Linked DNA regions of Homo sapiens: all the other regions are linked to region 3. The links are contacts of gene promoters, found by promoter capture Hi-C in blood cells and fetal thymus (Javierre and others, 2016). All regions are on one chromosome and are shown on one strand. The core of a region is centred on a gene start or on the middle of the fragment in contact, and the rest is flanking DNA. Distances in the headings are between cores, read along the strand shown.

Region 1 (4,457 bases), core at 176-2,675, 1.2 Mb after region 3:
TCCAGGAAGGCCATCGTGGCTGAGGGGTAATGAATTGCAATAATACTAGGATGGGAGAGGAGAGTGGGGAAGTGGGAGAGGCCCCATTGCTCAGCACCTGGTAAAGATTTTGGTCCTTTTTTTGAGAGGACAGAGAAGACTTTTAAGGTGAGTGGGATGATGGGTGGGGAAGGTTGAGGAATGACAGATTTCTATATGAAAGTCGCTGTGGCTACAATGTGGAAAATGGATTAGATGGGGCCTGGGCAGAGGTGGGGGAAGGCTTTCCCATTGGCTTCCTCCTTGCCATCCCCATAGCCATGATCCCCAGTCCAGATTTTTGTTGTCTCTTCTTGTCTTGCAGCAGAAAACCCCACTACTATTGTCCCTAGCAACTTACCTTCAGTGTGGCTGTCTCACTTCTGACAAAAGAAAAGAAAATCAACAATCCTTCGTTGGGCTCAAAATAAAGTTCAGAGTCCTTAGTCTGGCTACAGGTCCCTTCAAACCTGGCCCTTGTCTCCCTCACCAGTGTCACATCCAACCACTTGTCATCAATACCTGAGCTCTAGTTCATACAAGGGAGACTCGAGAGCTGGACCGCAGTTTGAGGTGAAAGGACCAGAGGAGTAGAGGCACCGAGAGCCAAATCTGAGGCCGAATCAGAGGTCTAGGATGTTAACTGAACAGAAAGTAAAGGAAACTGGCCGAAGCGGGGGTTTCAGGCAGTTGGCTTCCAGCATCTTCAGGCGGTTGGCTACAAGAACATCAAAGACCAACATTTGGGAAGCACTCAGGGACAAGACATCCGGAGGCTTGGATGCAAGACCAAAGGTGTAGTTGATGGGAGGTAGTTCCCCAGGACAGGCCCCCGAGGACTGACAGATGGGAGCTTAAGGACAGGACCCCCAACCAGTAGAGAAATGAGGTTCCCGAACAGCCATGACCACAGCTGGCGCAGAATGGGCAGGACTCAGAGACTTGTAACTCAGAAGGTCAAGGACAATGGCTGACTTGAGGATGACTTGGTAGGAGGAGAATGATGAGAACATTCTTTATATTCTACCTGTCTGGAGACAGAATGAATTCTAGAACAAAAGGAGCAAGGCCAAGCTTCCAATCAAGGCTAGAGCTAGAAGGTCATGGAGAAAGGCGTGGGCAGCTCCTGCCTTCGCCTGCACCAAGTTCAACAAACACACAGTCATAGCCATGGCTGGTCCCCAGAGCACACACAAGGCAAGGATGTTAGTGGCCAGCCCCATGCACCCCGATGAGCTATGCTCGCTTGGGAGACCCATCCTCCTTGAAGGTGAGTGAAATCTCAACACGAGTATGGTTCTGAGAGTAGCTCTGTAACTCTGAGGATGGTCTCTGGAGACCATGACTGTGTACAGTTCACATGGTAACCAGAAGACTATGACATACTTCAGAAGGTGGTGAGGTCATAGAACACAAGCTTTAAAGTAAGTGAATCATGTGTGCCTCATTTATTTTTAAAAGCAACTTCTGAGAAGGGCTTAGAACAAATTTTTTCCCGGAGTGCCATTTCCCAAAGGTACTCACAGAACAATCAGGTGTGACCATAATGGCTGCACTGAGTTGTCTCTTGGACAGTGTCAGAAGGGACATAAAGAAGGTGGACAGAGAACTAAGGCAACTGAGATGCATCGACGAATTTAGCACACGGTGCCTGTGCGACTTGTATATGCACCCCTATTGCTGCTGTGACTTGCACCCATATCCGTACTGCTTGTGCTATTCCAAGCGATCACGCTCTTGCGGCCTGTGTGATCTCTACCCATGTTGCCTGTGTGATTATAAGCTTTACTGTCTGCGACCATCTCTCAGAAGTTTGGAGAGGAAAGCCATCAGAGCCATAGAAGATGAGAAGCGAGAGCTTGCCAAGTAAAATAACTTATTTTTAAATTTTTATAGTCGGTATATTAGCCTTATAAGTTGGAATAAGGAAAAATATGTGACAATCAATAGTTGAACAAAGATTAAAAGGGTTCAGGATAATGACCCTGGTGACTTAGGAAAGATTTAAGGAAAGAAGAGTAAATGAGTCCATGATGGGAATTGTAGGGTTCTCAAAAGACAATGTAATGATGTCGATTGGCAAGGTCGTCGGTGGTTTATAGCAAGAATGCCAGTATGATAAATAATGCGGCTTTAATGAAGGGAAGAAACAGGGGGTGTCATTAAAAAGCCATTGGAAGCAGCAAACTAAACATTTTTCCTGGTTATGAGTAAAGTGATTTGAGTATATTTGGACTTACAGAAATGACTACAGGAGAAGTAATAATAATAGATCAAATCCTTAATGTGTGCCAGAGGCTTTACAAGCAGGAGAGCAAATTGAACAGTAGAGGCATTGCCTTGGTTTTGTGGGAATATCATTCTCCTATCCCCCCACTCCAGGCAAAGACTTACCTTGTATCTGGAATTAGGTCTATCATGTTGGCCTCCCCTCTAACTCTAGCAAAGGTCTTGCAAATAAACTATGGCACTGAGTTGTAGCTTTCAGGATAGACTTGAAAGGCTTTTTAATTGAATTGGGTAATTAAAAAGAGTCAGTTTTTTAAAAAAATTTTTGTTTTAGATTATATTTTCTTTTTGCCTGGAGAAAACTTTCCTTTTCTAACTTTTTACATATGCCATTTAGTCTGTTACTGTTGATGAAAAAGATGGTTGAAAGTGCTGTCCCTGGTTAAATAAATAATACATTCATGCACTGGAATAATAAGTAAATATAGAAAGGATTGATGAAGCATCTTACATATTGATGTATTAAGTCAAACAAGCAAAGTGCAGAAAAACTGATAGACAGATGACAGATAGATAGATAGATAGATAGATAGATAGATAGATAGATGATAGATAGATAGAGTCTCTTGACAACAGTGACAGTGATGTTTCTTTGGAAAAAGCAATAGGAGGCCGGGTGCATTGGCTCATGCCAGTAATCCCAGCACTTTGGGAGGCGGAGGCGGGCAGATCACCTGAGCTCAAGAGTTCGAGACCAGCCTGGCTAACATGGTGAAACCCCATCTCTACTAAATACAAAAAAAAAAAAAAAAAAAAATTAGCCAAGCGTAGTGGCACGTGCCTGTAATCCCAGCTACTCGTGAGACTGAGGCAGGAGAATCACTTGAACCCAGGAGGCAGAGGTTGCAGTGAGCCAAGATTGCACCACTACACTCCAGACCGGGTGACAAAGTGAGACTGTCTCAAAAAAAAAAAAAAAAAAAGGATAATTATTGTCTAGGTCACCAGCCACCAATGGTCAGGAATGAACCTCCCTCATAGCCTGGGAGCTTTCACCTGTAAATTCATCTATACTCTTTGAACCAATGTTTGTTTTTATTTCTTAGGGCATCAAGTCACATAAATTGCTCACACTGTGAGGCAGGGACTCTTTTTAAAATATTTGGTCCAAGTTAAGGTTTCCTTGTGAGCAGATCAGTATCCACTCTCCTCCTACTTTTGGATACTTGAATACCCTTGTCCAGGTCTTTCCAGCCTCTGTCTTCCTGGCTTCTCTCCTATCCCCAGACTCTACCAATTAAAATCCCTCTCTGTCCTGTGCTGTCTACTCTCTTGATGCCTCTTTCAGAAGCCTTGTTTCTTGGCATGCAGTAGAAACAGCTTCAAGCTTAATTCTCGGCAGTGTAGTTTAGGCAAGAGGTAATGTTTTCTCTGGTTTGTGATGCTCTTCCTGACAGCGTCTGGGTCTTTGCCTATTTTTTCTCTGCCTGCAGGCAATATGTGAAGCTGGTGATGTCTTTACATTAATTTCTGGATCTCGGAAATGATAACTCCAAGTCCATTGTAGAAATGACCTCAGGCTTGTCCGCTTTATCTCTTCCAATTCACACCACCTTGTGAAATTTCTATGCTCTATTTCTGACAACTTGACATTTCACTCTCCAGAAGGGCTTAGTGTCACTTGCAAACCTAAATATTCAATTTTCCTGAATATGGGTGAAAATGTTAAACCCTGATTCTAGCCTCAGTCCCAGAAGGCCCCCAGTGTAGTATTTTTTCTTCTAGTGCAGTGCCTTTTATTCTTATCTCTAAGCTAGCGCCTGATCCATAACTAAATAGATGCAGAAATATCATGTTGATTCAATTTTTTAAAACAATCTTTGGTGTGAAAGCTTGCCCAAGGCTTTTTGAGTTTAGAATTCATATTCACATGACCTTCCTCCCCTTTAAAGAATGCAAGGGGGTTGGTTAGTTATGACATATCCTTTCAGATGGCAGGCTGTGTTGTCCAGAAGGTTCTTTGCCCAATATGAAGTAAAGACTCTATAGTCTATAGTTGCCTTGGCCCCCTTGAAACTGTTTTTCTGTGTCACAGTCAATCTGCTGTGTCTCTGGGTCCTCCTTTAATAACTGGTAAAAAGCCTCAACCAACAATTTCTTAATTGATCCCACAGGTTTCTTGAGCACTCCTGACTATATGTTATTTGATT
Region 2 (4,320 bases), core at 517-3,016, 1.2 Mb after region 3:
AATATACAAACTTTGGAAAATTTGAAAGGGCACAAAGTAAAGAAAAGGAAAAAAGTAAGCACCATAATCCCATCTCCTACTTTTGTTTTCTTTGAGACAGGGTCTCATTCTGTCACACAGGCTGAAGTGCAACAGTGCAATCACAGCTCACTGCAGACTGGACCTCCCAGGCTCAAACGATCCTCCCATCTCAGCCTCCTGAGTAGCTGGGACTACAGGTGCACACCACCATGCGCGGCTAACTTTTTTTGTATTTTTTGTAGAGACGGGGTTTCACCATGTTGCCCAGGCTGGTGTTGAACTCCTGGACTCAAGTGATCCACCCCCCTCAGCCTCCCAAAGTGCTGGGATTACAGGTGTGAGAGCCACCTCGCCCAGCCCCATCTCCTACATTTTGAAATATATTCTTCTGCTAGTTTAGATATAAGGATAAACATGTAATTCAAAACCAAATTGCCTTTAGCTGCTCCTGCATGTTTATGGGAGGGATGGTGAAACCGCCTTTGTAAAATCATGACTGAGACAGTGAAAGAGATCTAACTTAACTGACTCCATCTTGCCTCTAACCCCCAAGCTGTCCTTGTTCATTCCTGGGCATAGGCTGAACTAACTTTGGGAGAGACTTAGTTTTTCTAATTTAAACAAAGACGGTAACAGCCCTTTCCCAAAGCAGACCGCCTTCTTGCCTGGGGAGTAGATTGCCTTTGTAGGACTAACATTACCCACAAGATTAAAAATTATGGTTTAGGAGTCATGCAGCTGGAAGTCTACAAGATTCTGACCCTCCTTAAACTGGTCCTAAGATCAGTGCTGGAGATATTTTGCAGACCCTGCACTTGATAGATCAGCTGGCACCACCCAGATCAATAAACTGGTTCATCGGATCTTGTGCCCCTGGACCCCCCGGAACTGATTCAGCACAAGACAACAGTTTCGACTTCCTATGATTTCATCCCTGACCAATCAGCACTCCTGGCTCACTGGCTTCCCCCCACTCACCAAGTTATCCTTAAAAACTCGACTCCCCGAATGCTTGGCGAGACTGATTTGAGTAATAAAAAAAACTCCGGTCTCCTGCACAGCCGGCTCTGCGTAAATTACTCTTTCTCTATTGCAATTCCCCTGTCTTGATGAATCGGCTCAGTCTAGGCAGCAGGCAAGGTGAACCCCTTGGGCAGTTACGGTGGCTGAGGACATAATTCGTATTTGTGGAGAAAAACATAACATCGAATATTATTTACTATGTGCCAAACACTAAGCACTTCATACATATTAACTCTAAGAAACTTTTGTCTACTGCCTGCCAAGTTCAAAGATATTCTTCTATATTTAACTCATTTAATTCTCAGCAACCCTACTAAATATTAGTCCCACCCCATTCTGTAGATAAATAAACTAAGGCAGGGGAAGAACTGTGCCCCAAACCGCACAGCTGGTAAGTGGCGGAACCAGGACTTCCTCCAGAATCTGCTCCAGAAGCCTGCGCTGTGCTGTGCACTCCGTGCGCTGTGTGCTCCGTGCGCTGTGTGGTCCGTGCTCGCTGTGTGCTGTGCACGCGGTGCGCTCTGTGCTGTGTTGCATGCTCTGTGCTGTGTGCGCTGTGCTGTGTGCGCTGTGCTGTGTGCTCTGTGCTGTGCTCCGTGCGCTGTGTGCTGCGCGTGTGTGCTCTGTGCTGTGCTCCGTGCGCTGTGTGCTTTGTTGTGCGCTGTGTTCTACGTGCTCTGTGCTGTGCGCTGTGCTGTGTGCTGAGCTGTGCTGGCATCGTTCTCACTCCTCCTGGTGGCTGTGGGAGGATGGACTGGTAAGGCTTTCTCTTTGTTATCTTCTGTCCCAGACCGGATGTCTGTCACAGTCATCAAGGGGTCTTGTCTGTAATGCCAGGAGGTGTAGCACGAGATGGGAAGGTGGGGGACACACTGAAGCGAGGAAATCCTAGAGGGAGGGCCAGCCTGGAGGGGCGCAAATACCGTCGCCCCCAGGCCCCGCCCCACCCCGGCAGCCAGAGCCCTGCAAGCAGTGGGGGCTTTCTACATAAGAGGCATCCACGCTGTGCTGCTCTGAACATTGAGAGAATGTTAGGCTGGGCGTGGTACAGGCTATGCCTGTAATCCCAGCACTTTGGGAGGCCGAGGTGGGAGGATTGCTTGAGCCCAGGAGTTCAAGACGAGCCTGGGCAACAGAGCCAGATCCGATCTCTAAAAAGAAAAAAAAAAGAAGAAAGAAAACATCTGCCACATGCTCATTTTCCTTGCGAAGGTGGTTTTGGAGGAATCCAGAGAAATGGCTGAATCCCACCTCTGAGCTGGAGCAGAGAAGGGAAAAAAGAAGTCTGGTTGGTCTGAGAATGAACCCCACAGTCCAGAGGCAGCAGTGAGCTCCTGGGAATCTGGATAAACTTGAGGAGGACACTGTTCATTGTACTTTACGCCAACGTGGACTGGAGGATACAACCCGTTTTATTTCAGTCCCAGAGTGACCTCGGATGACACGTGGGAGAGCGCTGTACATTCATGCATATATATACATGTATGTGATTTGTAACATGTATATTATGTGGTTTATATAACAGATGCATGACATAAACATGTACCGGTAGAGACGTAGAGAATTCTTTATAAAAAGTGACATAATATAATGAATCAATAAATCTATATATATAGTATACATTGTATATTATGTAAATGTAACATGGCATATTATAAAACATCTATAAAACAAACATAACACATATACTGTTTTATATATGATATGTAAGCACATATTTATATACTCTTTATTAAAATGTAACATTATATGATTTAATGTTTTTCCCTTTAAATTTTTTTAACAAAATGGGACATTATTATATACACAATTTTGCGTGTTTTTAATTTAGGAATATACTGTGTATGCTTTATCTTTTCAGTAATATTCTTTAAGAAGATGATTGTTAATATATTTTTATATTCTTCTGTTTGTTTTTGAGGCGGGGGTCTTACCATGTTGTTCAGACTAGCCTTGAACTCCTGGGTTCAAGTGATCCTCCTTCCTCAGCCTCCCAAGTAGTTAGGATTACAGGCACACACCACTGCACCCATCTATATTTTTATATTCTATATGCAGGTACCATAATTTGCTTAATCAGTCTCTTATTTTGGTTATTTGTTTCTGTTTTGAGTTTTTGCTATTATAGGTAATGCTGCTAATGAACTTTCTTATAAATAGAACTTAGATTCTGATTTCGTACATCTTGCCAGCACCAGTCAGGGTCGACAGAAAACAGGTGGCACACTAAACCTGGGCAATTGAGGGACATCTAATAAAAAAGGTACAAAGGTGTAAGCTGGGTTTACGGAAACCAGCCAGGGATGATGCAGTGCCTCAGGGATATTACCTCCTCTCCAATATTTTGTTATTGCTTCATTTTTCACTTCTTTTATTACTCATGAGGTCAAGTCCTTTTTATATGTTTAATTTTCTTTTGTGAATTGCTTTTGCCCATCAGGGAGTTCACTTATTCTGCTTAGTTTGTGGCGTGTTTTATAAGTATATTAACTATTGGTTTGTTTCCTCAAATATTTCAGTTGGTTTGTTATTTTTTATATGTGGTTCCTGTTGTTTTGATACACAGGAGTTTAAAATTTTTACACTGTTAAACTATTAACCTTTGCTTATATGTTTTAGAATGATGCCAATTTAGTAAGACTCTATAAATGGAACTTAGAGTCTATTTTATAGTTTCTTTTTAACCTCTAATTCTTATCTTCTTAACCAGAGCTATAACTTTCATTATCAAGTAACCATTTATGCTAAACCTGAAAAAACTGAATATGAGTCTTCCCCCTAAAAAATCTTTACAAACACAGGTGTCAACATGAATCATCGTATTTCCTGACCTTGTGGTCTTCCATTACGGTTTCAAAGCAGAGAAGAGTAACTCTGCTATTTTTTTTTTAAGCAAATTCATCTTCTAGGTGCTGCAAATATGATAAACTCTGCTTTTTTAAGGAGAATGCTTGCCTGAGCCGTAGCAGACATGCCCTGACTTAACACATCTAAGTGAAGCTAGAGTATTTTTTTCAGGAATCATCTTTATGATGTTCAAGATGAATTAAATGGAGGAAAAGTAGGTTTTAAAAATAAAATTAGGCTGGACGCAGTGGCTGGCCGGGCGCGGTAGCTCACGTCTGTAATCCCAACACTTTGGGAGGCTGAGGCAGACGGATCACTTGAGATCAGGAGTTCAAGACCAGCCTGGCCAAAATGGAGAAACCCCGTCTTTACTAAAAATACAAAGATTAGCCGGGCATGGTGGTGCATGCCTGTAGTCCCGGCTACTTG
Region 3 (4,677 bases), core at 1,043-3,542:
TTCTTCTACAGCTTACCTGGAGATGTCTCCCATGGCCAGGTGGCTGGCTGTATCTGTGAAGCAGTGGGCCTCTCAGTAGCACTACTCTATATTGGCTTCTTACTCTTCCCTGCCTTTCTTTCCTTTCCCCTCATTTTCCCAGCCCTAGGGTTTTCTTGCAATAAAGCATTGCACTTAAGCTTTGTCTCAGCCTGTTTTCTAGGGAAGGTAGGCTAAGACATTTGAAGATGTCCCATGTGTCGGGAAGTGTATGAGGTAATTTCACATATGTGATTCCATTTCACCTTTACAACAACCTTGGGCAGGGAGGGCATGACTTGACAAGGTCACCCATGAGCAAAGAGTGGAACTCAAATATTTTTCATTGAAAAAGCAGTTACTGACCATGTTCTAGGCATCGGGAATACTGTGGTGAACCATTCAGACACAGCTGCTACTCTTGTGAAACTTATGGTCTGCTGGAGGAGGGCACATAATAACAAGTAAACAAATCCATAAACAAGATAATTGCATAATGTGCCAAGTTCTAGGGAGACAAATAAGGCTATGTGATAGAGTGTGACTGGGAGAGGGGACACTTTTTTTCCATGTAGTATTGAGGGAAGGCCTCTCTGAGGATGTGACACAAGGGCTGAGGCCTAAATGATCAGGCAGCCATGGAAAGTTTTGGAGGAAATGTTTTCCAGGCAGAGAAAACAGCAAGTACAAACACCTTTAGGCAGGAACGAGCTTGGAGAGTTTGGGAAGGAAGACCAGTGATTTTTTTCATCATACTATGCTTGGCCTAGGGTCTGGCTTTGAACATTCCAGGCATGGCAGTGACAGTGATACTTGTATTCGTTATCTATTGCTGCATGACAAGGTATCCCAAAACTGAGTGGCTGAAAAAAGCAACAATCATTTTTTTCATGGTTTCTGTGGGTGAGGAACTTAGGAGCAGCTTAACTGGTCAGTTCTTGTGTAGGTTCTCTCATGAGGCTGCAGTCAGGATATAGGCTATGGCTATATCATCCGAAGACTTGACTGGGGCCAAAAAATTTGTTTCTAAGATGACTCAGTCACATGGTTGGTTAGTGTTAGCTGTTGGTGAACAGCCCCAGTTCCTCCCTAACTGGGCCCCTCCAGAGGACTCTAGTTTCCTCTTGACACGCGACTGGCTTTCCCCAGAGTAAGTGATCCAAGAGAGTAGGGCAGACACCACATTGTCTTTGATGGTCTATCTTTGGAAGCCATATACCATCATTTCTGTATTGTTCTTTTAGCCACGCAGACCTGCCCTGAAACAGTGTAGGAGGATACTACCCAAGATTGTAAACACCAGATGACAAGGATTGGGGCCATATTGAAGACTGCTTACCACAGTGCCCAAATGCTGTAACAATATCTAGTTTGATGTGCTCTCTTCCCTCTCTTGGTTTGCCTTCATTCACAAACTATCCCTATATAGGAAGATGGATCTCAAAAGCTCCAGGCTTCTACATTTCAAGTCTAAAATAAAGGGCCTTATTTTTCCCAATATCTCCAAGAAAATCCCTGGAATTGAATCCCATTGACTTTGAGTACATGCTATCATTTCTGCATTATTCTGTTGGCCACACAGATCAACTCTGAAACAGTGAAGGATACTGCCCAAGATCGTTGGGTGTGAAGATTGTTCATCAAGATAATTGGCTTGATCCATTTCTTGCTCAATGTCTATGACTGGGGGGAAGGGTGGGGTCAACCCCACCAAAGTCACATGGACTGAGAGTCGAGGAGATGCAGTGTCCTCAAAGGAAAACTAGGGTTTTATTATGAGAAGAAAGTAGAATGGATAGCGGGTGGGTGGAAATAGCAGGTGTGTGTACTACACCTATAATCAGGATCTCTCCTCCCCTTCATCCTTATCCAAGTTGGCCCTTAGAAAAATGGAAATAATTTGAAAAGTTCACTTTGATTGAGGTACTAAAACAACCAATGTCACATTAAGAGTTACTCTTCTTTGCATTTGAAAAGGGAATATGATTTTATTCCCAAAGAATGAAACTATGATGAGGTAATTTCAGGCATTCATAAAAACGACATGGTAGTCTTTTGGGATAGGGAAGTGAAAGTGTCCTGATGCCTCTCAAATCAGGCTATATCTACAGTCATATTGCCAACCACCCTGCATCTATCTTATGTCACTTTTTAAAAATAGTTTTACTGAGGTATGCTTGATGTACAATTACTCATATTTAAAGCATATGAGTTGATAAATTTTAAATATGCATACATCCAGAAACCAATCAATAAAATCTCTGTTGTTATTAGCTGTGTAAACATTTAGAATTGTTATGTCCTCTAGGTGAATTCACCACTTTATCATTAAAAAATGACCTTGTTTTTTCTTTTTTTTTAGAGACAGGGTTTCACTCTATCATGCAGGCTGGAATCCAGGTATGCCATCATTGCTTACTGCAGCCTTGACCTCCTGGGTTCAAGCGATCCTCCTGTCTCAGCCTCCTGAGTGGCTGGGACTATAGGTTTGCATCACCATGCCCAGCTATTTTTTTAAATTTTTGTTTGTATTTTGTAGAGACAGGGGTCTCTCTATGTTGCCCACGCTGGTCTTGAACTCCTGGCCTCAAGAGACCTTTCTGCCTCCCAAAGTGCTAGGAAATACAGGTGTGAACCACTGGACCTGGCCAGAAATGACTTTTTAAAATCCCTGGTAATATTCTTTGCTCTTAAATATACGCTATCTGATATGAATACAGCACTTACTTTATTCCCAGCATTGTTCCAACCACACGCCATTGCATGCATTGCTTCATCAAACTTCAGCAGTAACCTTACAAGCAAGGTGTAGGGAATTTAGGTAGTTTGTTCAAGATCAAGGTTTGAACCTGACTTTAGAATCCACCTTATTCACCAATACAACATTAAAAGGAACTGTATCGAGCCATGGAATTAAAATAAAACAATTATAATACTTTGAGAATGAGGCATTTCATGTCAGAATATCAGATAAAGATAGCCAGGCAAAGTTACCTCTGCTCTCTGAATGCAGTATTTTTCTTTTGAAAACTCACGCACAAGAACCCCCTTGGAGGCTTGCTTGCTTTGACAGCTCATAGAGGTTATTCACTCAGCTTTTAGTCCTCTACTTCCTCAGACAAAAGTTTTTGATTCACTTTAAAAATGAAATGTATGTTTGTAATAGCAGAACCTTATTGCACTAAATTCTTTTCCTTTGAAGCTATTCAGTGAAAGTTATTGTAATGAACCATAAAGTCAATAAACAAACACAAAATAAACTATTCTGCCATCTGAGTTCTGCTTTTGCTTTTAGAGTCTTGTATGAGATTTATGCTTTCAAATCATATTTCTCTTGTAGTAGTTTTAGAGGAAAGGTGGTGGGTGTGTCCATATTTAGTTAACAATATGATCATTTCTTTAATAAAAGGAGACTAAATCAGCATATCCTCAATCACATGTTCTAGGTACCAAATTTATGTTATTTGTTTTGCATGACTGCACTCTATGTTACGTATTCTTATTTCCATTTTACAAATAAAGAAACTGAGGCCCAGATTTACATAGCCAATAAGTGGGACAGCGGGATTATGCAACCAGGTCTCTCTTTGGCACACACTGTGCTTTCTGCCTACTATCAGACAACACACCTATTATAATATTTTTTTCATAATTTATATTTATTAAATGTAAAAGCTAAAGTAAATTAAGAACATAAAAGATTTAATATTGTAATTTCTGATTTTAAAAGAAAGCATATTTCTGGAGAAAAGCAGTGTAATTGGGGCTTGATACTTGGCTTCGTGAAGTTTAGAATTAGCGTGCTAAGTTGTGGATTGGAACACAGAGTGCTGTAATCTGTATTTCAAGGTTGACAGCTAATACACATTCTGAACAAACTATTGATGCACACAATTGCGCTGTGATGTTTTGGCCAGCAGGTGGCGATATTGTGTCACAAGGGACGAGGTAAAAGGTGGGATTTCGTTTCCCTATCAACTACTGTATTTTGGAGTAAAACGATGGGTTCAGATTTGATTTCTTTGAACTCTATTTCCTTATATGAACAAGGAGACACAAATATTTCAGGCGACTTTCTTAGGCGGCGATTAGATATCAGGTTGCTCTCCTTAGACCTCAGTGAAGAATGGATCAGCACTCCAGAATCCTTACCTGAGAGCCTCTGCACTCTGCCAGGGACTTCTTGGCTCCTGAAAGCAGGTGCTTGTCACTGGGTTCAGAACCACCTGATGGAAAGGTAGCTCCTTAACATGGCAATGGATATTATAGTACATCTCTAGATCTAATAATTTCAGCTATTAAAATCCCATTCATAAAGTGAAGCACAGGAGAAAAGAAAAACATTTAATAGAGATGAATTCACATAGCTTATTTGTGAGAGAGACACCAAGCTTCTTATGGAAGGTCTATTTGCTCTTATGTTAGACATAATTCTAATATAACAGGTTAAAAAATAACTATTTGGAAGAGGGAAATATTGTTAGAGGCAGGTACAAAGATAGACTCAAGTTCAGAAAGATGGTAGTAAGACTGGAACAGAAAAACCCAAAGAACAGAAAGAAAAACTTGAAGACTGGGACTAAATAGAGCAGGAACAGAGAGCCCCCAAGTGCGTCACCGTGTGAGAGCTCAGCCCAGTTGTCAAGAAGTCTGAGTCGT

The links. Contacts are between HindIII fragments. The CHiCAGO score rates a contact against its expected background, and 5 or more counts as called.
Region 1: the fragment with the promoter of ODF1 here is called in contact with a fragment that was not itself captured in region 3 in 1 of 17 cell types (naive CD4 T cells); the score reaches 5.0 in naive CD4 T cells.
Region 2: the fragment with the promoter of LINC03047 here is called in contact with a fragment that was not itself captured in region 3 in 1 of 17 cell types (naive CD8 T cells); the score reaches 5.2 in naive CD8 T cells.

Annotation. Positions count from the first base shown.
Region 1 is chr8:102,550,164-102,554,620 of GRCh38, forward strand. ODF1 (outer dense fiber of sperm tails 1) reads left to right here and starts at 1,426. Exons shown (of 2, transcript NM_024410.4): 1 at 1,426-1,884. The coding sequence starts at 1,565. LOC124901998 (a long non-coding RNA gene) reads left to right here. Exons shown (of 3, transcript XR_007061039.1): 3 at 344-433. LOC105375684 (a long non-coding RNA gene) reads right to left here and starts at 465. Exons shown (of 2, transcript XR_928478.3): 1 at 380-465. The HindIII fragment of the contact is 343 bases long and covers 1,091-1,433 here.
Region 2 is chr8:102,527,055-102,531,374 of GRCh38, forward strand. It overlaps LINC03047 (long intergenic non-protein coding RNA 3047), which reads left to right and starts at 1,767. Exons shown (of 2, transcript XR_001745731.2): 1 at 1,767-1,801; 2 at 2,257-2,797. RefSeq lists enhancers at 1,544-1,763, 1,944-1,993, 2,064-2,113, 4,024-4,073, 4,257-4,320. The HindIII fragment of the contact is 12,429 bases long and covers 1-4,320 here.
Region 3 is chr8:101,323,203-101,327,879 of GRCh38, forward strand. No RefSeq gene overlaps it. Among named protein-coding and RNA genes, the nearest start is that of LINC02844, 63 kb to the left of the region's middle. The HindIII fragment of the contact is 4,230 bases long and covers 178-4,407 here.